7 separate regions of the Homo sapiens genome follow, and regions 1, 2, 3, 4, 5 and 6 are each linked to region 7. Evidence: promoter capture Hi-C in 16 types of primary human blood cells and fetal thymus (Javierre and others, 2016). All regions are on one chromosome and are shown on one strand. The core of a region is centred on a gene start or on the middle of the fragment in contact, and the rest is flanking DNA. Distances in the headings are between cores, read along the strand shown.

What was found. Contacts are between HindIII fragments. The CHiCAGO score rates a contact against its expected background, and 5 or more counts as called.
Region 1: a fragment that was not itself captured here is called in contact with the fragment with the promoter of SECISBP2L in region 7 in 1 of 17 cell types (total B cells); the score reaches 6.0 in total B cells.
Region 2: a fragment that was not itself captured here is called in contact with the fragment with the promoter of SECISBP2L in region 7 in 7 of 17 cell types (naive CD8 T cells, total CD8 T cells, total CD4 T cells and 4 more); the score reaches 10.8 in naive CD8 T cells.
Region 3: a fragment that was not itself captured here is called in contact with the fragment with the promoter of SECISBP2L in region 7 in 5 of 17 cell types (naive CD8 T cells, total CD8 T cells, non-activated CD4 T cells and 2 more); the score reaches 9.8 in naive CD8 T cells.
Region 4: a fragment that was not itself captured here is called in contact with the fragment with the promoter of SECISBP2L in region 7 in 1 of 17 cell types (total CD4 T cells); the score reaches 5.2 in total CD4 T cells.
Region 5: a fragment that was not itself captured here is called in contact with the fragment with the promoter of SECISBP2L in region 7 in 1 of 17 cell types (total B cells); the score reaches 7.9 in total B cells.
Region 6: a contact is called between the fragment with the promoter of AP4E1 here and the fragment with the promoter of SECISBP2L in region 7, in 4 of 17 cell types (total B cells, naive CD8 T cells, fetal thymus and 1 more). The highest score is 8.8, in total B cells.

Annotation. Positions count from the first base shown.
Region 1 is chr15:50,330,324-50,333,516 of GRCh38, forward strand. All of the region lies in intron 1 of GABPB1 (GA binding protein transcription factor subunit beta 1), which reads right to left. Among named protein-coding and RNA genes, the nearest start is that of GABPB1-AS1, 22 kb to the right of the region's middle. The HindIII fragment of the contact is 5,779 bases long and covers 1-3,193 here.
Region 2 is chr15:50,425,074-50,428,543 of GRCh38, forward strand. All of the region lies in intron 1 of USP8 (ubiquitin specific peptidase 8), which reads left to right. Among named protein-coding and RNA genes, the nearest start is that of USP8, 2.4 kb to the left of the region's middle. The HindIII fragment of the contact is 4,576 bases long and covers 1-3,470 here.
Region 3 is chr15:50,358,032-50,361,095 of GRCh38, forward strand. GABPB1-AS1 (GABPB1 antisense RNA 1) reads left to right here. Exons shown (of 1, transcript NR_024490.1): 1 at 1-281. MIR4712 (microRNA 4712) reads left to right here and starts at 2,298; the gene lies at 2,298-2,379. The HindIII fragment of the contact is 6,184 bases long and covers 1-3,064 here.
Region 4 is chr15:50,874,765-50,878,054 of GRCh38, forward strand. No RefSeq gene overlaps it. Among named protein-coding and RNA genes, the nearest start is that of AP4E1, 32 kb to the right of the region's middle. The HindIII fragment of the contact is 5,142 bases long and covers 1-3,290 here.
Region 5 is chr15:50,760,390-50,763,499 of GRCh38, forward strand. The region is part of intron 1 of SPPL2A (signal peptide peptidase like 2A); the gene reads right to left. Among named protein-coding and RNA genes, the nearest start is that of SPPL2A, 3.8 kb to the right of the region's middle. The HindIII fragment of the contact is 5,841 bases long and covers 1-3,110 here.
Region 6 is chr15:50,907,063-50,910,399 of GRCh38, forward strand. AP4E1 (adaptor related protein complex 4 subunit epsilon 1) reads left to right here and starts at 1,621. Exons shown (of 21, transcript NM_007347.5): 1 at 1,621-1,866. The coding sequence starts at 1,717. RefSeq lists enhancers at 1,214-1,955, 1,430-1,719, 1,740-1,909, 1,956-2,697. The HindIII fragment of the contact is 3,809 bases long and covers 1-2,021 here.
Region 7 is chr15:49,044,466-49,047,798 of GRCh38, forward strand. It overlaps SECISBP2L (SECIS binding protein 2 like), which reads right to left and starts at 1,981. Exons shown (of 18, transcript NM_001193489.2): 1 at 1,811-1,981. The coding sequence starts at 1,834. RefSeq lists enhancers at 1,438-1,577, 1,868-2,217, 2,318-2,447. The HindIII fragment of the contact is 1,178 bases long and covers 1,187-2,364 here.

The DNA.
Region 1 (3,193 bases), core at 393-2,892, 1.3 Mb after region 7:
TTTACAGCTGCATAGTACTCGGCTATGTGAAAATACCATTGTATACTTTTAATTAAAAAAAAACTAGTTATCTCTTACTCTAGCAATCACAAGATCTCACCTTGCAATTTGAGTCCCTCTATCAACTGCCTCACACATTTACTTCATCCATTTTTCTCTGAATATAGGGCCCTGACAGTCATCCGATTTTAAACAATTCTCCTTCCTCATCTCATACACACTTACCTTATTCCAGACCCAATTCTCCTTCCTCATCCCATACACACTTACCTTATTCCAGACCCAATGTCTCCCCTCATGCTATTTTCCCAGTTTAGAATGGTTACATCCTTTCTCTCCAAATGCTATACTTCAATCAAAGCCCATTTTTAAAAGATCTTTTCTCCAACAAAACTTTCTAAGATGAGCTCTTAAATTTCCTCAGCAATATATAGCATAATCTCTATGTTTCTCTTCATTCAACAAACAAATGTTTACTGAGTAAATGAAGAGCAAAGAGCTTATGTTCTGGGATAAGAACTTCACAATAAAGAAGTAAATAAGTAGTAGTAGTAGTGGTGGTTGTGGCAGTGATAAACGGTATGAAGAAAAAGTAAGGCAGAGTAAGAAACAGAGTACTAGATTAGGGATAGGGAATTGCCATTTTGGAGAAAGTGATTACAAAAGGCCTCTCTGAGGAGGTGACAACTGAGTAGAAACAGGAATGAAAGGGAAAGCAAACCTAGGGAGGATCCAAAGGAAGCATCATGATGCACAAGTCATTCTCTTGGTTGCTTAGCATCAAAACACCTTCTTGTCCTTGGGGAATTCCCTTCCATATGCATCTTGAAAGAAGGCAGAAACCTCTGCCTACTACTGAATATTTGCTTTCCTTGCTTCCCATAAGGCAAGGGTACAGTCATATGACCTCCACTCCACAAGAGAAGCATCTGTGCTGGACCTTAATGTAGAAGATAGTGCATTTAAAAAGCCGAGAGTGTGTAGAACCCTTAGTGGCAAACGTGGCAGCAGATTCCAATAACAGTAGTGGTAGCAGCTTCCTCCTGTGATAAATTCCTTTTCTGTTAAATTAACCAGAGATTATTTGACTACTTAGAACTAAGAATTCTGGCTGACCCTGGTGATCCAGGGAAATGGAACAGCATATGTTAAGCGCCCTGAGCTACAGTGAAGAAGTATAACAGGAAATGCAATCATAGAAATACAAATGGGCTGGATCACATAGAACCTTATAGGCACTAGAAAGAGTGAATTTTATTGAGATTACTAGCAAGTTGTCAGAAAGTTTTAAACAGGAGAGTGTTGTGATGTGATTTACATTGTTAAGAGGCTACTCCTGTTATCATTTGGTTAATACATAGTGGAAAGCAAGAACTGAAACAAGCGTACTAGTTAGAAAATTATTCCAGGCAAGAGCTGCTGGCACCTCAGGCCTGGATGATACCTGTGTGGTTATTAGACAATTTACCTTTAATTGCTATATATTTAAGTTAAATCTAACATCATATTTTATGCTTTCCATTTGTCCCGTTCAGTTTTTTTTTTTGTTTTTTGTTTTTTGTTTTTTTTGAAATAGAGTCTCGCTCTGTCGCCCAGGCTGGAGTGCAGTTGCATGATCTCTGCTCACTGCAACCTCCACCTCCTGGGTTCAAGCGATTCTCCCGTCTCAGTCTCCCAAGTAGCTGGGATTACAGGCATGCACCATCACACTCTGCTGATTTTTGTATTTTTAGTAGAGACGGGGTTTCACCATGTTGATCATGCTGGTCTCGAACTCCTGACCTCAAGCAATCCACCTGCCTCGGCCTCCCAAAGTGCTGAGATTATAGGTATGAGCCACCGTGCCCAGCCCCCTGTCCAGTTTCTTTTCTCTCCTTTGTTGTTGCTGCCTTCTTTCCCCTCAATTCTTTTTAGCATTCTATTTATTTCCTCTACTGATTTGGAAGTTATACCCTCTGTTTCTGTTCTTTTGTTGGTTTTCTAGAAATTATACCATGCAGTAAAGTCTAATCAAAATCTTTATTCTCTCTTTTCCCAAAAAATCTATAGATTTTAAAAGACATAAGCAACACATCAACAAAATGCAATATGTAGACCCTGTTTGGATTCCAGTTTGAAGAAACCAAATATAATTTTTTAAATCTTTTTTTAGATAATTGGGAAAATGTGAATACTAACTACATAATGCTAAGAAATTATTGATTTTTTTCTGTATATGATACTGGTATTATACTTTAAGCCCATATCTTTTATAAGAACAATATATTTATGGGTTAAATAATGTGATTGTTAGGACTTACTTTAAAATACTTGGGATATATATAAAAACACTTTAGTCATGAATTCATAACTGTTGAAGGTGGGTAATAAATACATAAGGATTCATTATACTCTTCTCTTTTACATATTTAAAATTTTCCATAAGAGGTTTTTTTTAAATTACTATCCTTCTAGGTAAGACAAGGACCTTAAATCCTAGACTCTACCTATCCTACTTGTTATACCCTTGTTTTTAATCCATTAGACATTTTTACTATGTTTAATGCAATCCATATTCATTTTCATTCTCTAAATATGTATCATTTTCTTTACCTTTAATTTACTCTTCATACATTTCATTTTGTGATTTGAGATCAATTTCATCCTGTCCTAAGTATATCCTTTAAAAACATACTGTCCAATATGGTGCATGTGGATATTTAATAAAAATTAAGTTTATTGGCTTAATAACTTATTAATAACTTAATAACTTATTAAGCCAATAAACTTAAAAATTCAGTTTATTGAATTTTCAAGTACTCAATAGCCCTATGTAGCTTATGACTACAATATTGGACAGCACAGAAAAAGAACATTTCCAGGCCAAACATGGTGGCTCACACCTACAATCCCAGCAGTCTGTAGGACTGAGGTGGGAGAATCACTTGAGCACAGGAGTTTGAGCCTGAGCAACACAGCGAGACCTCGTCTCTACAAATAATTTTAAAAATTAGACAGGTCGAGGTTGTGTGCATCTGTGGTCCCAGGTACTCAGGAGGCTGAGGTGGGAGGATTGCCTGAGTGATCACATTATCATTATATTATCACATTACTTCATCCATAAATATATTATTTTTAGCTCAGTGAGCCATGATTGCACCACACTCCAGCCTGGGTGACAGAGTGAGACCTGTCTCAAGAAAAAAATAAATAA
Region 2 (3,470 bases), core at 919-3,418, 1.4 Mb after region 7:
AATTATCAGAATCCTTACTAGCAGTGATGTGCATTATAAAGCTGCAGACCACCCTCCTGGGTTTATTTCTTGCCTCCAGTTCATTCTGTGACCTTGAACAAGTCACTTAATCACTAACAAAAAATTTACCTGACACGGAGGTGTTGCAGAGCCTAAGGAATTTAGTATTTGTTAAGAGACCTGAGGGTTTCAGATGAAAGGGATTTATATCTAAAGGATGTTACCTTTTCTGAATCTGCAAAGCATCGTTAGTTTTGTAAATATCTTGCTGCAGCCATTAAAAATGCCAAGTGGTATTTGTTAAGGAAGTATTCCTGTTTTAGGCTTGCTCTGCTGCGGCTTTGCTATGTAAGCAGATTTTTGCATTTCAGCCGATTCTGTTTAAGATTCGTTGGTGAATGTCATTCATGATGGATTTGGGTAGTTTCTCCTTACAGCATATCCCTGGACTATTAAGCATATCTGGAAGGTGATATCGGTTGTGTTATGTCTTTATCATGTTGATATGGCTGCTTTGAAATATGTATTCCTTTTCTTGTGACACATTGGATGCATCTTTAATATTAGTGAAGACCCTGTAGTAGTTTAAAAAAAAAATACACCTCTCATTAATGAAATTTTGCACATAGACATCTGTTTTTTTAAGAAAACAATGTATAAGAAAAACTAACAAAAATGTTTTAAAGGTGCCTTTTTTAGCATTTCGTTTTTTAATATATTTACTTGGACTTTAATCTTTATGGGCATTTGTTTATTAATGTGGACGTGGCTGGGCGCAGTGGCTCACATCTGTAATCCTAGCACTTTGGGAGGCGGAGGTGGGCGGATCACTGAGGTCAGGAGTTCGAGATCAGCCTGGCCAACATGGCGAAACCCGGTCTCTACTAAAAATACAAAATTAGCTGGGCGTGGTGGTGCACGCCTGTAGTCCCAGCTACTCTGGAGGCTGAGGCAGGAGAATCGCTTGAACCTGGAAAGCGAAGGTTGCAGTGAGCCGAGATTGCGTCATTGCACTCCAGCCTGGGTGACAAGAGCAAAACTCCGTCTCAAAAAATAAAAAATAAAAAGCGTGGACATAATGGAAAATAATCAAAATGACTTTTGGGTAAGACAGTTGGAAAATAAAGCCAGTACATTAAATTTTTTTCATAAGTCTAGCACTATATTACGAACTTTTCTCCATGAAAATGCACTCATATTTATGGAAGTGAAAGGAAAAAAATGTCTTCAGGTATGTGTTGCTAATAAAATTAGATATAATTAAGGAAACATTTAAAAAATACCTTGTTGTTGTCCCAGTTACCTATTGCTGCATAACAAATCACTCCAAAACATAGTGACTTAAAACTGTAATTTAGTATCTCTCCTGTTTCTCTGGCCTGCCTGGACTTAGCTAAGTGGTTTTCACCTAGAGTTTAATGCGTTTGTATTCAGATAAGCAGCTGAGTTTGGAGTCAACCGAGAGCTCAGCTGGTCTGGACATCCAAAATGGCTAATTCACGTGAAGGCGTTTGATGTTGGCTAGGAGTTCAGCTGGAAATGTCAACTGGAATGCCCACACATAGCCTCTTCACGTGACTTGAACAGTATGGCGGCTAGGTTCCGAGAATACATGTTTGAGGAGTCAGGAAGTAGAAGCTGCCAGTCTCCCAAAAAGCCTGAGCCCAGAAATTCGCACAACATTACTTCCAACATACTCTGTTGGTTAGAGCAAAGACCAGCGTACAACCCTCACCTTTGAAAGGAAAAATGTCAAAGAATTTGTGGCCGTGCTTTGCCTACTATAATTTTGATGACAAAGTTGTATTGGACTCTTGTTTGCATTTATATAGCAGATGAAGAATCAGGTACACTTCCAATTTCCAGTTTCTTTCTTTCTTCTTCTTCTTTTTTTTTTTTTGAGATGGAGTCTTGCTCTGTTGTCAGCCTGGAGTGCAGTGTACGATCTCAGCTCACTGCAACCTCTGCCTCCTGGGTTCACGCCATTCTCCTGCCTCAGCCTCCCGAGTAGCATGTCACCAAGCCCAGCTAATTTTTGTATTTTTAGTAGAGATGGGGTTTCACCATGTTGGCCAGGATGATCTTGATCTCTTGACCTGTGATCCACCTGCCTCAACCTCCGAAAGTGCTGGAATTACAGGCGTGAGCCACCGCGCCTGACCCATTTCCAATTTCTTTAACCGTAATACTTTATGTTGTAATGGCATATTACAGTTTTCAAAGCATGTTTTTGTATATTTTTTCACTTGATACCTATGGTCACCCTATAGAAGCAGACAAATAGTTCCTATTTCATTTTGCAGATGAAAGTAAACTGAAGAGTGGTGGTGGTATTGGGAGTGATTTACGGAATTTGTTCAAAGTCATATGATTAATAAATGGAAAGTAAGGCCTGCAACAGTTCCATAATATTAAATTTATTAGTACTGAATGATGAAATATTATATTAAACTTATTTGGAATTCTACATTTATAGCCGTACTAATTTTTTTTTTTTTTTTTTTTTTGAGACGGAGTCTTGCTCTGTCTTCTAGGCTGGAGTGCAGTGGTGAGTTCTCGGCTCACTGAAATGTCCGCCTCCTGGGTTTAAGCAATTCTGCTTCAGCCTCCCGAGTAGCTGGGACTATAGGCACCTGCCACCATGCCCGGCTAATTTTTGTATTTTAGTAGAGATGGGGTTTTGCCATGTTGGCCAGGCTGGTCTTGAACTCCTGACCTCAGGTGATCTGCCCGCCTCAGCCTCCCAAAGTGCTGGGATTATAGCCGTGAGCCACCATACCTGGCCCTTTTTTTTTTTAAACTGAGACAAGGTCTTGCTCTGTCACCCAGGCTGGAGTGCAGTGGCATGACCTTGGCTCACTGTAACCTCTGCTTCCTGGGCTCAAGTGATCCTCCTGCCTCAGCCTCCCAAGTAGCTAGGACTGCAGGCACACGCCAGCACACCTGACTAATACCATACTAATTCAAGTAAAACAGTTCTCATGTATAGTGAATAAGGGTTAACTAAGCCTTGTCTCTTTTGACTAACACATTACAATTTAGTTTTTTGTTTGTTTGTTTTTGAGAGGGAGTCTTGCTCTGTCACCTAGGCTGGATGCAGTGGCATGATCTCGGCTCACTGCACCCTCCGTCTGATGGGTTCAAGCAATTCTCCTGCCTCAGCCTCCCAAGTAGCTGGGATCACAGGCATATGCCGCCACGCCCAGCTAATTTTTTGTGTTTTAGTAGAGATGGGGTTTCACTGTGTTGCCCAGGCTGGTCACGAACTCCTGAGCTCAGGCAATCCACCTGCCTCGGCCTCCCAAAGTGCTGGGATTACAGGCGTTAGCTACCACGCCGGGCCTACAATTTAGTTTTTAATAATGCAGCAGTCTTCCTCTTATCTGCAGGGGATATGTTTCAAGACCTCCAATGAATGCCTGAAACCACAGATAGTACTGAACCCTATATATACTATGTTTTCCCTATAT
Region 3 (3,064 bases), core at 23-2,522, 1.3 Mb after region 7:
ACGCCTGTAATCCCAGCACTTTGGGAGGCCGAGGTGGGAGGATCAAGAGGTCAGGAGATGGAGACCATCCTGGCTAACATGGTGAAACCCCGTCTCTATTCAAAATAAAAAATTTTTTTAAAAATTAGCCAGGCGTGGTGGCGGGCGCCTGTAGTCCCAGCTACTCGGGAGGCTGAGGCAGGATAATGGCGTGAACCCAGGAGGCAGGGCTTGCAGTGAGCCGAGATCGTGCCACTGCACTCCAGCCTGGGCGACAGAGCGAGACTCCGTCTCAAAAAAAAAAAAAAAAAAAAAAGAAATGGAGTATCATGGACTAGGATAGTAGCAGTAGAGATGAGGGAAGTGGATGGATCCAAAAAGCTGACCTATCTTGCTTACCAATTAAATGAGGAAAGGGAGGAATCAATAGTGATGCCTAGGTTTGGGGCATGTTGTCTAGGTGGAATTAATTTTAATTACACTTTTAACCCCTAGCATATCCAAATATTATTTCACATGTGATCAACATAAAAAATTACTAAATATTAAAAATATTTTACATTATCTTTCTCATAACTAAGCATTTGAAATCTGGTGTGTATTTTATACTTATAGCATATCTCAGTACTTGATTTCATAAAATTTCCAGCTGAAAAAATAGATTCACGTACCCAAGTCGTTCCAAGCATACTTAAAAGTTTTACGGTAATCGAATCGTGTATATTTTTAAATTTTATTTTAAATTAAAGTTAGGATTATGAATTCAGTTCCTAAATTAGCCTCATTTCACTTCTGCATTTCAAGTGGGACAAGTTATTACCATATTGGACAATGCAGTCTAGTGAAGTAGAGGATAGTGGAAAGTCAGACTTAAAAAGTTGTTTAGAACCAGCTCTGGAAGGCCTTGGATGTCAGATTAAAGGACTGAGATTTTACCCTTGAGTCAGGCAGAATAATGGATGGTTTTTGAACTAAGGAGTGACACAAGGTTGTGCTTATGACTAGAAGGAGGCCACTAGGTGGCCAGCTGGTGAGTCAGGACACCCTTCAGTTGCTTTGACTTCAGCCCTGTGGATTCAAAGTCTGATTTTTGTCAGCGCTCTAGAGCAGTCTCACCAAAAGTGTGGTCCACAAGGCAGTGCCAGTCTGTAAGCCCTTTGTTACACATCCATGTCAAGGCATTTACAGAAAGTAAGAATTTAGAAACTTATAGCAGTTTAACAGACTAATTTTATTTCTGTGGGTCTAATAAAAATTTGAGGGATTGTACTTTGCATATTCTTTATTTCCCTTTTTTTGTTTGTTTTTTGTGTTCGAGATGGGAGTCTTTTTCTGTCGCCAGGCTGGAGTGCAGTGGTGCAGTCTCGGCTCACTGCAACCTCTGCCTCCTGGGTTCAAGCGATTCTCCTGCCTCAGCCTCCCAAATAGCTGGGATTACAGGTGTGCACCACCACATCCAGCTAATTTTTGTATTTTCAGTAGAGACGGGGTTTCACCATGTTGGCCAGGATGGTCTTCATTGCCTGACCTTGTGATCCGCCTGCCTCAGCCTCCCAAAGTGCTGGGATTACAGGCGTAAGCCACCGTGCCCGGCCCTTTTTTCCTTTTTAGTTTATTTTTTTCTTTTTTGAGACAGAGTTTCGCTCTTATTGCCCAGGCTGGAGTGCAATGGTGCGATCTTGGCTCACCGCAACCTCTGCCTCCTGAGTTGAAGCGATACTCCTACCTCAGCCTCCCAAGTAGCTGGGATTACAAGCATGCACCACCATACCCTGCTAATTTTGTATTTTTAGTAGAGACGGGTTTCTCCATGTTGGTCAGGCTGGTCTCGAACTCCCAACCTCAGGTGATCTACCTGCCTTGGCCTCCCAAAGCGCTGGGATTACAGGTGTGAGCCACTGCACCCGGCCGTTTTTTTCTTTTTCTAATAATTTTTATCATATTACATAAAAGTACCTATGGTCTCACAGATGAAGGGAGTCAGAAGAACCAAACTCCCAGAAGACATATAAATCTAAATGCCTTTTTTACTTTAGAGTGAAAACTGTAATAGCTAAATTATAATGGACATCTGCTCATTTTCTCCCTCCATGTAGACATGGAAAGCTACACGGAAATAACCGAGTTTATAGTAGCTACCATATATTAAACGTTTCCTGTATGCCAGCCACTGTGCAAAGCATATTATATATATTGTCTCATTTAATCCTCACAACTCTGTAAAATAAGTATTGTTTGCCCCATTTTTCCAATGAAGAAACCGAGGCTAAAATAGGTTGAATAACTTACCTAAATTCACCATCCTCAAAGGTGTTAAAGACAGGATTCCAGTACAGGTCTCTCATTTCCTTCATGATTAGGAATACTACTTTGAAATGAGAGACCTGTACTGTATCTGTTAATTCCAAATTCCCTGGCATAAAGACTCAGTACATTGTTTAAAGAGAATGCATGAAGTTAACTGCATTACCTTTTGGAGGGTTCATTTGTGAATTTGGGGCCAAAGTAAGGGGAGTTACTGGTATTCTAATAGCATCAAACAAATGAATTCATTTCATCTTTTGGGGAGGTGGAGGGAATAAGGTCTCACCTTGTCGCCCATGCAGGCTGGAAGGCCGTGATGTGATCTCAGCTCACTGCAGCCTCAACCTGGGCTCAAGCGATCCTCCCACCTCAGCCTCCTGAGTAGCTGGGACTACAGGTGCACACCACCACGCCCAGCTCATTTTTGTATGTTTTGTAGAGACTGTGTTTTGCCACGTTGCCCAGGCTATTCTCAAACTCCTGAGCTCAAGTGATCCTCCCACCTCAGCCTCCCAAAGTGCTGGGATTACAGATGTAATCCACCACACCCAGCCAAATGCATTCATGTCTACAATAGAAATACATCTCTTTGCTGCTATCTTGAATTTGTAGACTCCCACAAATCAATAAAAAAGAAGACATCCAATAAAAAAATGGGTAGAGGCCAGGCAGTGGCTAACACCTGTAATCCAAGCACTTTAGGAGGCCCAGGCAGGCAGATCACTTGAGGTCAGAAGTTCAAGACCAGCCTGGCCAACATGACAAAACCCTGTCTCTACTA
Region 4 (3,290 bases), core at 192-2,691, 1.8 Mb after region 7:
TAAGTTACCATGGCCTATAACACAGCCCTTAGGAGGTCCTGAGAACATATGACCCAGGTGGTCGGGGTACAGCTCGGTTTTATATATTTTAGGGAGGCATGAGACATCAATCAAATACATTTAAGAAATACATTGGTTTGGTTCCGAAAGGTGGGACACCTCAAAGCGGGGGTTTCCAGGCTATAAGTAAATTTAAACATTTTCTGGTTGACAATTGGTTGAGTTCACCTGAAGACCTGGGGTTAATGCAAAGGAATGTTCAAGTTAAGAAAAAGGATCATAGAGGCTGTGGCGTGGTGGCTTGCGCCTGTAATCCCAGCACTTTGGGAGGCTGAGGTGGGCGGATCACCTGAGGTCGGGAGTTTGCAACCAGCCTGACCAACATGGAGAAACCCCATCTCTACTAAAAATACAAAATTAGCCAGGTGTGGTGGCACATGCCTGTAATCCCAGCTACTCGGGAGGCTGAGGCAGGAGAATCGCTTGAACCCAGGAGGTGGAGGTTGCGGTCAGCTGAGATCGTGCCATTGCACTCCAGCCTGGGCAACAAGAGTGAAACTCTGTCTCAAAAAAAAAAAAAAAAAAGAAAAGAAAAAGGATCATAGAGACCAGGTTTTATTATGCAGAGTGCAGAGGAATCTCTCAGATAGCAGAGTTCAGAGAGAAAGCAGGTTGTAAAATGTTTCTTATCAGACCTAAAAGGGTGCCTGGCTCTTAGTTGATTATCTCCAGGATCTGGAAAGAAAAGGAAAACAAAAGGGAAATGTGGATTTTTCCCACAAGACACTTTGCAGGGCAATTTCAAGGTATGGCAAGGAAATATATTTTGGGGTTAAATATTTTTTCCTTGTCTCATAGTGTTATGCCAGAGTTAGAATGAAAAGTGTGTCACGATATATAGGGTCAAATAAAACCCATTTGATGAGAATTTATGGTTTGTAGTGCATGACTTCCTAGACTCCTTAGGTAGGAATTTGGGCAAAATAAAAAAATCAGAGCTCAGTCTTCAGTTTGATCAATAGTTCTTTTTATAATAAAATTGTAAAGATTATTTCTAAATGCTAGTTTTTATTTTTATAAAGAAACGTATGCTACTATGTACTTTGAAAAAAACACCTGGACTGGGTGCGGTGGCTCAATCCTGTAATCCCAGCACTTTGGAAGGCCGAGGCAGGTGGATCACAAGGTCAAGAGATCAAGACCATCCTGGTCAACATGGTAAAACCCTGTCTCTACTAAAAATACAAAAATTAGCTGGGCGTGGTGGTGTGTGCCTGTAGTCCCAGCTACTCGGGAGGCTGAGGCAGGAGAATCACTTGAACCTGGGTGGCAGAGGTTGCAGTGAGCCAAGATCGCATCACTGCACTCCAGCCTGGGCGACACCGTCTCAAAAAAATAAAAAATAAAAATAAAAAAGAAAAAAACATCTGGAGTCATATACACATAATGTTACAGCAATTATCAAGGAAAGAATACCTATTTGTATGGATTTTTATCTGATCTGATACAGAAGTTTCCAAATGTTCTTGAAACTTGTGAGGGTGTTTTCTTTCATAAAACCGTAAACTTGGTCTCCTTTAAAAATTCCACCTGGAGAGCTACTGATTAACTTGTAAACTTACTGTCCCTTGATACATTTTAAGTGTGTTTCAGTAATGGGATCATAAAAAATTTGCCCTTAGGCCGGGCGCGGTGGTTCACGCCTGTAATCCTAGCACTTTGGGAGGCTGAGGCGGGTGGATCACCTCACGTCAGGAGTTCGAGGCCAACCTGACTAACATGGTGAAAGCACTTCTCTACTAAAAATACAAAAATTAGCCCGGCATGGTGGTACACGCCTGTAATCCCAGCTACTCGGGAGGCTGAGACATGAGAATAGCTCGAAGCTGGGAAGCAGAGGTTGATCGCGCCATTGCACTCCAACCTGGGCGACAGAGCAAGACTTCGTCTCAAAACAAAACAAAACAAAACAAAACAAAACAAAAAAAAAAAGAAGGAAATTTGCCCTTGTGCCCCTTCTTATGAATTCTGATGGATGAGGGAGAACGAAGAGAGGAAAGAGTAAGATAAAAAAAAAAGCCACAAGATGGAGGATAAAAATATTACGGTTATTCTTTTAACTTATCCAGGAACAGAATGAGTAGCATTTTCAGTGTAATGCCCTCACGGTGTATTTCAGAATACTCAGCACCTCCTAACCATTTTACATCTAGAAAGCTCCCAAAAAAAGGCTAATTTGGTTTACTGCCACTTTGGGACGATTCTGGTTCTGGGTGGATTCTGGTTCTGGGACGGAGTTGTTTTCCTTGTCTGTCCCCTCTGGATGCAGTTACGTAGCCATCTAGTGACTGAGTTGGGAATTGCAGCTTCCTTTCGGATTGGGGAAATCTGCCAATTCACCCTGCCTCATCGCAGATGTGGAATGAAAGAAATTCGGTTGGCAAACCTCCTACTAACGGAGAATACCTTAGTGAACCACTTTGCAAGTCCGTCTCCTACATCCTTGTGCAGGCATCTCTTGTGCAGAGCCTTACATTCTTAGATTACCTCACAGGGATACCAAGAGCATAAGATGAAGTTACATAAACCAGAACACAAAAATGTATTTTTAAAAATTACTGTTGTTTTTGTTAGAAAACCCTTTGGAATAGGTCGTTAAAGAGCCTTGTTAAGTGCAAGTCTGTCACAAAATCAGAGATGTTAAAGAAGGCAAGAGGTAAAATGAAAGGAAATTCATGGGGTTGTTATACTTTCATTCATTTATTAACGATATCATTCACTGAGTTTCTACTTGGAGTAGGGTGCTGGGGAAACAAAGATGGATAACACATAAGGGGCACTCTGTCTAGAGGGGAGCCAGACTTGGAAGCAATTTTTAAAAAGTATATCAGAGCAGTGGTGACTGTGCAAAGCACCTGCTTATGCTAGACCTGGGGACACTGAATCCCATTTAGGCAACATGCTTTAAAAAGTACACAGAATCGGATGGGCGCAGTGGCTCACGCCTGTCATCCCAGCACTTTGAGAGGCTGAGGTGGGTGGATTACTCGAGGTCAGGAGTTTGAGACCAGCCTGGCCAACATGGTGAAACCCTATATGTACAAAAAATACAAAAATTAGCCAGGCATGGTGGCGCATGCCTTTAGTCCCAGCTACTTGGGAGGCTGAGGCAGAGGCAGGAGAATCGCTTGAACCTGGGAGGCAGAGGTTGCAGTGAGCCAAGGTCGCACCACTGCACTCCAGCCTGGGCAACAGAGTGAGACTCTGTCTCAAAAAAAAAAAAAAATACA
Region 5 (3,110 bases), core at 13-2,512, 1.7 Mb after region 7:
AGCTGGGGTTACAGGCACCCACCACCGTGCCCAGCTAATTTGTGTATTTTTAGTAGAGACGGGGTTTCATCATGTTGGCCAGGCTGGTTTCGAACTCCTGACCTCAGGATCTGCCTGCCTCAGCCTCCCAAAGTGCTGGGATTACAAGTATGAGCCACCACACCTGGCCTGATGTCTTTTCTTAAAATGGCACTAATCCTATCATGAGGGTCCCGTCTTCATGAGCTCATCTAAACCTAATGATTTCCTGAAGGACCCATCTCCAAATATCAATACACTGGGGGTTATGGCTTCACCATATGAATTTGGGGTGGGGCTGTTGGGGGTGTGGGGGACACAATTCATTCCACAGCACAGCAGCTCAGCAGATTTCTTACTGCCTGGGTAGCAGAACATACCTACTTTCCCTTGGAGGTTGAGAGAACAGAGCAGAAGAGAAAGAATTGAAGAATCTTTGAGTTGGTGTAGTATACAAAAGGAAGGCAAATTTTCAGCAACAGATTTTTCTGCTGGGGATCCTGATTATCATTTCATTGTATCAAGCTCAAGATGCAGCTATATGCTACTTCAAATTCTTTGAAGAAAAAAAAATCAACAAAACTATTTTTTCATTTGTGTGTGTGTGTGTGTGTGTTTTTAGAGACATGGTCTTCTCTGTCACCCAGGCTGGAGTACAGTGGCGTGATCATAGCTAACTGCAACCTCAAACTCTTGAGCTTAAGTGGTCCTCCTACCTCAGCCTCCCACGTAGCTGGGACTAGAGACACAAGCCACCATGCTCAGCTAATTTTTTAATTTTTTGTAGAGGTGGGGTCTTGCTATGTTGACCAGGCTGGTCTGAAACTCCTAGCCTCAAGCAATCCTCCAAAACAGAACTTTTAAAGACACTATGAGGAAGACTCAGGATTCTTCAAAGAACTTTGAAGCAATTTAAAAAGACAGAGCTGCCGGGCACGGTGGCTCACACCTGCAACCCCACACTTTGGGAGGATGAGGCAGGCAGATCACCTGAGGTCAGTAGTTCGAGAGTAGCCTGACCAATGTGGAGAAACCCCCGTCTCTACTAAAAATACAAAATTAGCTGGGCGTGGTGGTGCATGCTTGTAATCCCAGCCACTGGGGAGGCTGAGGCAGGAGAATTGCTTGTACCCGGGAAGCAGAGGTTGTGATGAGCTGGGATCGCACCATTGCACTTCAGCCTGGGCAACAAGAGTGAAACTCCATCTCAAAAAATAATAATAATAAATAAAATAAAAAGAGCCAGGGCCAAGAGCGGTGGCTCACGCCTGTAATCCTAGCACTTTGGGAGGCCGAGGTGGGTGGATTGCCTGAGCTCAGGAGTTCAAGACCAGCCTGGGCAACACAGTGAAACCCCGTTTCTTCTAAAATACAAAAAATTAGCCGGGCATCACGACGTGCACCTGTAATCCTACTCGGGAGACTGAGGCAGGAGAATTGCTAGAACCCAGGAGGCAGAGGTTGCAGTGAGCCGAGATAAGGCCACTGCAATCCAGCCTAGGCTACAGAGCAAGACTCCATCTCAACAAAAAAAAAAAGAGAGCCAGCATAAACAATATCCATTGTCTTTGAAACAGAATCCCATGACTGCGTCCACACTGAGAAATAAAGTTCTGACCATTGTGACCCAGGGTCGAGGTTGAACTGGGGAAGGAGAGGTGCAAAATGTAATTATGGCAGCCAGGCATGGTGACTCATGTCTGTAATCCCAGCACTTTGGGAGGCCAAGGCAGGAAGATCACCTGAGGTCAGGAGTTCGAGACCAGCCTGGGCAACATGGTGAAACCCCATCTCTACTAAAATTACAAAAATTAGCCAGGTGTGGTGGCAGGCACCTGTAATCCCAGGTACTTGGGAGGCTGAGGCAGGAGAATCACTTGAACCCAGGAGGTGGAGGCTGCAGTGAGCTGAGATCGCACCACTGCACTCCAGCCTGGACGACAGAGCAAGACTCCATCTCAAAAAAAAAAAAAAACAAAAACCCAAAAAATAAAATGTACTTATGGCAAGGTCAAGACACAGCTAACTACCTGCTAGGCGCTCATTTAATTTCTAGACCTAATGGGTTTAAAAAATATTAAAACAGCCAGATGTGCTGTAGCTTCAGTTCAAAATACACAGTGAGGTCACTCTGATGTGAAGATGACAAGATGAGGAGGGTAGGCAAATGATCTTTAAGGGCCTTTCCAATACTAAATCCTCTGCCTCTTCTAGATGGATGTGCCAGTGGTTTCTGAAGACTACGTGCTGCTTCCATTATAGATGAGGATGTTGGCCCTGTTATTACATGACTAAGGGGAAGCAGTGCCAGTTTCTTTTTTTCTTTTCTTTTTTTTTTTTTTTGAGATGGAGTCTCGCTCTGTCACACAGGCTGGAGTGCAGTGGCACGATCTTGGCTTACTGCAACCTCTGCCTCCCGGGTTCAAGCAATTCTTCCGCCTCAGCCTCCCAAGTAGCTGGGATAACAGGCACGCACCACCACGCCCGGCTAATTTTTTTTTTTTTGTATTTTTTTTTAGTAGAGACGGGGTTTCACCATATTGGCCAGGCTGGTCTCAAACTCCTGACCTTGTGATCCACCCACCTGGACCTCTCAAAGTGCTGGGATGACAGGCGTGAGCCACCACGCCCGGACAAGTAGTGCCAGTTTCAAGAGCCCAGAGAGGAGAAATGAAATGATTGAGCTGGCATCACTAATCAAAGGAACTCAGAAAGGCTACCTAGAGCTGTAAAATTAGGGAAGAGGAATAAACAAAGGGCTTCAGGGAGAAAATGGTAGAAGACTTCAGACAGAGTTGGAGGAAAGGAACTAGGTATCCAGAAAGGAGAAAGAACTCCAGCTGAGGAAAAGGAAACCAGATCTACCCAAGTTCTCAGAACACGAAAGGAATGAGAAAGAACATCTCAGGAAATTAAAGGAAGGAGGAACCAAGAAGAAAACAAATCCATAAAGAAATCAACAAGAAATAGAAAAATCAGTGATACTAGCTGGTATCGAAAAAAGATCCTTACAATTTAAACAGATATTGTCAGTTTATTCAGTCATCAGGACATTACATCCCATATAATAAGATGCACACCAAACATTTGCA
Region 6 (3,337 bases), core at 371-2,870, 1.9 Mb after region 7:
AAGTACACCCTCACAGCTGATCAGAGCGGGCTGCTCAAAGGTGAGACAGCATGCACTGACACTGGGGAAACTCCCTTTGTAGGAGTCTCACAGGATCATTCATGAAGCGGGGAGAACGGGTGCTGCTATTAAGCACGTTCTCTGGTTTTCTGTCGCCATGTGCGCTGTGGTTGTATATGCTAGTACATACACTGCATGTCTTATTAGTATCTTAAATCTTCACCCAGGAGTGGTGTTTTTTTTTTTTTTTTTTTTTTACTATTATAATGAGTATAATTCAGCCCAACGACACTGATCATGGGTTTCTGCGCTTGTGAGAGTTTGGGGATTTTCCCTTCTGCTCTCGTACCTCTTTGCTGCAAAATTTTCTAACCAGGAGCCTCGGATGTGGTTTGTACACTATGGGCTGGTTTGTTCTATTTATTTAGCAAGTTTGTTCCCCTTGAAGGGAGGCTATCACCACCTACCTAACCTACCTCCTAGAAACACACTAGGAGTACTGAGAGCAAATTGCATTAATCTCTGAAAACGCACGTATTTATGCCCTAAACCTACTACCTTAGAAAATTCTAGAAAACACAAGGATACTCCAGGATACATTTTACCAGCTAGTCAATCGTCATCTAGCCGCTTGAAAACTCTGTACATTTCCAACAGAATGAGGGTAAAAACGGCAAATAACACGTAAGAAACGTTATCAATGTTGTTTTGACTTTGTGAATTCCCTAGAAGGGTCTCAGCGACCCTGAGGTCACCAGACCACATTTCGAGAGCCATTGTACCAGACTCTGTTCTAGATAAAAGACGGAGCAATCGGAATGAATAAAATACTCTCTCTATGGGGAGCTGTTTACGTAGTGGCAACTGCGACCTGTTCTAAAGTGGAACAGAACCGAGCGCTGTGAGAGGGTGGGACTTGGAGACCTATCCTTGCCCGCCGGGCCAGGGGAGTGGGCTCTAGAAGGATGACCTTTCAACTGCGACCTGCTGAGGAGGAGTCGGCAAGGGTGGCCGCCGACCAGTTCTCTTTCCCGCCCACCTCCCCAAATCCCAGGAGAAGAGGGGCGGACGGGAAGCGACAGTGGCCGCGAGTCCCCGGCACGCGACGGGCTCTCAACCTGGCACGCCGAATCCTCAGGACAGCCCCGCTATCACGCAACTACTCGGGTGTCCCAAGAGTCGCCAGGGCCGGAGCCGCGCGCGGCGCCGGGGACCCGCGTGAAACCGCCTGTGGGAAGCGGGCGGGTGGCGCGCGCTCCGGGGACAGTGAGAGGCGGCGGACGGCGCGGGGACGTCCCGAAAAAGGCGCAGCCAGGAAGACGCAACTCCTGACGCGGTCTCGGGCTACGCGGAGGCGGCTAGTGGGAAAGGGGGACTCTGGGAGACAGTGCCTAACAGGGCCAGGCCCCCGACGGCTTCCTCAGGAGGACTCACGGTTCTGGGGGATTCCGGAACCGCTACCCCGTCGCGAGAAAGGAGGTCTACTTACGCGCGCAATCTCGAGCGAGCGGCCTTTTCCACCCCCGCGGTCTCTTGCGCCCTCTGGTGGCCTCTCGCGAGAACGACGCTGAACTTGTTCAGGTGGGACGCCAATAAAGATTTCTTATTCAAAAAACAGGAAGTGCCTACGGAGGCCGGGCCGGCAGCGGCGGCCGGGCATGAAGCCGGGCGGCTACGGGATCGCGGGCGGCGGCGGCATCGCGGGCGGCGGCGGCGATGAGCGACATAGTGGAGAAGACGCTGACGGCGCTGCCGGGACTCTTTCTGCAGAACCAGCCCGGTGGTGGGCCCGCGGCCGCCAAGGCGTCCTTCTCCTCGAGGCTGGGCAGCCTTGTCCGCGGCATCACAGCCCTCACCTCCAAGCACGTAGGTGCCCGCCGGCCCGGGAGCTCAGGGACATCGGAGTGAGGCCCCCGCGCCAGGAGGCCCTGGCCGGGCGGCGAGACTTCAGGGCCTCTGGGGTTAGCCCTCCGGCGGGGCTCAGGGGCTGCTGTGTCGGTTCGTCCTTTCGTCTGCCTGGAAGCTTCACTTTCCTGCTGGGACTGACAGCAGGGAAGCCGAGTTTCCACAGTTAGTTCTGACACTGACTCTTTGATCGGGGGCACATCTCTGTAACCTCTGAGCCTCCGTGTGTTTTCTCAACGTTGTGGTGGAAAAGTACTGATACATAATTCATAGGTTTTTTGTTTGTTTTGAGGATTGGGTGAGATGTCAAGCGTGTGAAAATACCTAGTGCGATGGAAGTGTCAGACATTATTTACCTTCCACAAAGTTTTTTTTCCCTACTCAGTTTCCTTCTCTCCCCCGGTGCCTTCAACTGAACAACAGTTCAGATGTCGCATACCTGAAGAGATCCTGTGAGCCTCTTGTTGAATATCTTTGGGGAGCTTGAGGTTCTTGGGTTACAACAACGTGTTGGGCAAAGAAAAAGCACAGTTCTCTCAAAATGTAAAATTTGCTAAGTCTCTGCCTCAAGTGGGCTTTGAAAATGAGCAGTTATAAAAATTCTTAAACTTTTAAAATTTTTAAATTTTTATTGACGGAGTCTCTCTCTGTCGCCCAGGCTGGAGTGCAATGGTGCGATCTCGATCTCGGCTCGCTGGAGCCTTAAGGTTTTAAAAATTTTAATTTTTGTTTTTTTTTGAGACGGAGTCTCGCTCTGTCGCGCAGGCTGGAGTGCAGTGGCGCGATCTGGGCTCACTACAAGCTCCGCCTTCCGGGTTCACGCCATTCTCCTGCCTCAGCTTCCCGAGTAGCTGGGACTACAAGTGCCCGCCACTGCCTGGCTAATTTTTTGTACTTTTCGTAGAGACGGGGTTTCACCGTGTTAGCGAGGATGGTCTCGATCTCCTGACCTCGCGATCCGCCCGCCTTGGCGTCCCAAAGTGTTGGGATTACGTGCGTGAGCTACCCTGCCCGGCCTTAAAATTTTTAAATTTTTAATGACGGAGTCTCGCTCTGTCGCCCAGGCTGGAGTGCGATGGTGCGATCTTGGCTCACTGGAGCGTCTGCCTCCCGGGTTCAAGCGATTCTCCTGCCTCAGCCTCCCAAGTAGCTGGGATTATAGGCGTATGCCACTACGCCCGGCTAATTTTTGTATTTTTAGTAGAGACAGGATTTCACCATGTTGGGCAGGCTGGTCTTGAACTGACCTCAAGTGTTCGCTCACTTCGGCCTCCCAAAGTGCTGGGATTACAGGCATGAGCCACCGCGCCGGGCCCCCACAGGCGCTCGATGGTTGCACGGATTGTGTAGTATACCGATTCACAGCTACAAGGAGTTTATATCTTAAAAAGAGCACGTGTTAATGTCATTATTTGTTCAACAGATGTTTATG
Region 7 (3,333 bases), core at 731-3,230:
CATGGACCCCTGAATTAACTGCCTATCGCATAAATGAGGTGAAGACATCACTTTTCTATATATATTTTCTGAGTGTATAGGGAAGTGGAGGATTTTCAAATTATTCTTTCATTTAGGGTTAGGCTGGGGAAGAGGCAAGAAGTACTGGAAGAAAAAAAAGTCAACAGAAAACCTTCTTCCATGTTTTTTTCCTAGTTCTTAAATTTCTACAAGGTTTTAATAGGTCGTGGACTTTGGAAAGATGTGGAAAGGGGAAAAGGCTCTCTAGTTTAAATAATTTGCTCACAGCACTTGCTGCTAGGATAATCACAAACAGCTATGCTAAAAATTACCATCTAAATAGTTAATTATATTTCCTCTAGGATGAAAGGAACTCTAAGTATACATAAGGTAGCATTACTGGTTTTAGTCCTGGCATCCTAGTGAAGGAACAAAATGTTGAACCCTTTCATTAGTAACACACATACAAGGAAATGATTCAAGGAAAATTCGTATTCATTTGTCAGGCTTTGAAATCTCAGGTATTTATGATAGATACCTTCAAAAATGTTTTTAAATTAAACTAGATACAGGCTGTATACAGAATACTTCTGGGTCACATAAATGCCTAAGTGTATTTGCCAAGAGACTCTGTATCAATTTCTCTTTGGTAATTCCATGTATTGTTTTATAAAACTCATTTGTGTCTTCAGAGTTACATTCACATAAAGCTTTTTTTTAAAAAAAAAAGTCTTCTGTAAAAACAAGTATACACAACTAGGAAGCTGTGCTTTGCCTGCTAAGAGTCCGATTTCAAAATACAAACCGGCTTCAACTACATATAGACACATACAGGAATTTGGGAAATCTTATCTCATTAATTCAGGTGCTAATTATCCAACTGTAAAATTAATAGGCAGAAATTACTAGCCTCTCTTCTTCCGTCATCTAGTCATCAATGGGCAAGGCCTTCGAAGAAGGGAATAGAGAGTGAATAAACTTGGACTTCAAATTAAGTCGTTTCGCAGAGATCTTAAGAGTGGAAAATACTGGGGGGGAAACTATTGTTTTCGATTACTTTTAACACTGTTATCATCCCTGCCTGCTACCACCTACTAGCATGCATAATCAGGAATTTGATGCAAATAAAAATAAAACAGAACACTAATAGGACTACTTTGCGAATATGAAAACGGGTTCGAAAATAAGCTTATGCTTTACACCCTTAAAATAGAGCTAGCTTTAAAAAAAAACCCACTAATTACAATTCTTTGCAAAATAACTGGATAAAAGGACAAGGGGAAATCGTAGTATCGTTTCTTAAAAGAAACACCTCCGTAAAACCACTGCAAAAACAATGCTTCGCTCCATTGAACACAGACCTAAAAGGCCCGTGACTTCCCTTCATCTGTAGTTACCACACATTCTCTTACAGTCTTTCTGGGTGAGAAGCCTTCAAACGCCTTTCCACCTTGAAAACACATTCCAGAGCTGAAGGGAATGGGGGAAGCGGGGAGACTACTAGAAGTTATAAGCCCTCCTCCCAGGAGAGCAGGGACAACTTGGAGCCTTCTGACCCCTTCACCAAGCAGGGGAGAAGCGGCAACGGCGAGCCCTCCGCCTGGGAAGTAATCAGGGTTGGAAAAGCCCCCAAGTCCCAGGCAGCAGCTGGAACAATGAAGGAGAGCTGGGAGCTGCCAGGCTCCCAGGTGAGGGGGTCTGCGGCCGCAGGACCGGCCCCCGGTCCCCACGTTCGGAGAACTGGGCCTGGCCTGTGAGGAAGCGGCGACCCCAACCCCCGGCTCGGCGGGCCCAGCCCAAACCCGCGTACCTGCTCCGTGGGGGCTCGGTCCATGGTGCCTGCAGCCGCAACGGGCCCGCGCTAGTCGGTGTAAACAGCGCCTCGGGCCGCTTTCTCCATGGCCCCCCGCTCGGGTCCAGACTGGGTTCCGGACCTCCGCCCCTATCTGGCTGGCCGCGACACCGATTCGGCTACGCCACTGGCCGAGGAGGCGGCTCCAGCTCCGGGAGATGGAGGAGGCGGTGGCAGCTTCGGGGAGGGATCATCTGGGACGGAAGCCGAGGAGGGCCCGAATGGGCTGGAGGCGTAGTTAGAAATGGAGGCGCACGGAAGGAAAAGGAGTGGGGAGGAGGCAGAGAGGGGCAGTGGGCGGAGTGACAGCAAATGGCCTCAGCAAGGGTAGGAGGAACCCGGCCTGGCCTGGAGGCTAAGGCCAGGTGGAGGCGCCCAGGAGCAGGTGCCCCGAACCACACGCCACCCCTGCGACTGTTAAACGAGAAGTGTCAGACCACTTGGGACCCAGGTCTCCCGGGACTTCAAAGACCTCTTCAGGATCTGAAACCACCTCTTAGTGATGTTGGAAAAGCTTTCATCTGCCCACCGTACATCTGCTCCTTCCTTATGTTACGCAAATAAAGGGAGTCATGACTATAAAGGAATGAGAATATTCTGAAAATAATGGAGTCTTGCCCTAGAAAAATGCATATGTAAAACGCATACACAGAATGACTGGAAGAGGCCCGCTAGGAAGCTCCCCACAAATATTTATTGAGAGTTAATTCATTATCCAGGTTCATGCCCACTTCTAGGCTCACATCCAGGCTGACCTCGCCCATCTCAGAAATCCTAATTTTATGCAGGATCTGTATAACACCACCCAACGGGTAATTATTTTATCTTCAGATCCTTAGCTCCTTAAGGGCAGAGACTGTCTTGAAACTGGGCACTACCGTTAGCATGGCAAATTTCTTCTGGGCATCTCCTCAGACACACCCTCCAACACCCACACCCTCTGTGAAGATTCAACCAACTGCGGATAGAAATATTTTGAGGAAAAAAGAAATATCAAGTACAACAATAAAATACAAGTAATACAGTTTAACAACTGCTTATACAGCATTTACATTGTATTAGGTATTATAAGTAATCTAGAGATGATTTAAAGTATATCGGAGGATATGCATGGATTGTATGCAAATACTACACCATTTTATATAAGGATCTTTAGCACTCATGGATTTTGGTATCAGCAGGGATCCTGGAGCCAATATCCCCCCTGGGATACTTAGGGACAACTGTATAAGCTAAATTACACTTAAGTGAAGGTAGAGTTGAGGTGGCTGCTGTTTGGGGCACTGGTGTGGAGATCCACAGCTAGGAATGGGAAAGAGATTTTAAGAAATTTGCTTTGTCATGCTTCAGGAGATATCAGTAAAGACTAATTGCCTTTTCAGTTAGTCTAGGTTATTAGTCTGGTTATTAGACTCCAATATGAGGCTTGTTATGTGAAGGCCCCTTGCTGTACTTATGTTGATACAGGTTGGGTATCTCTA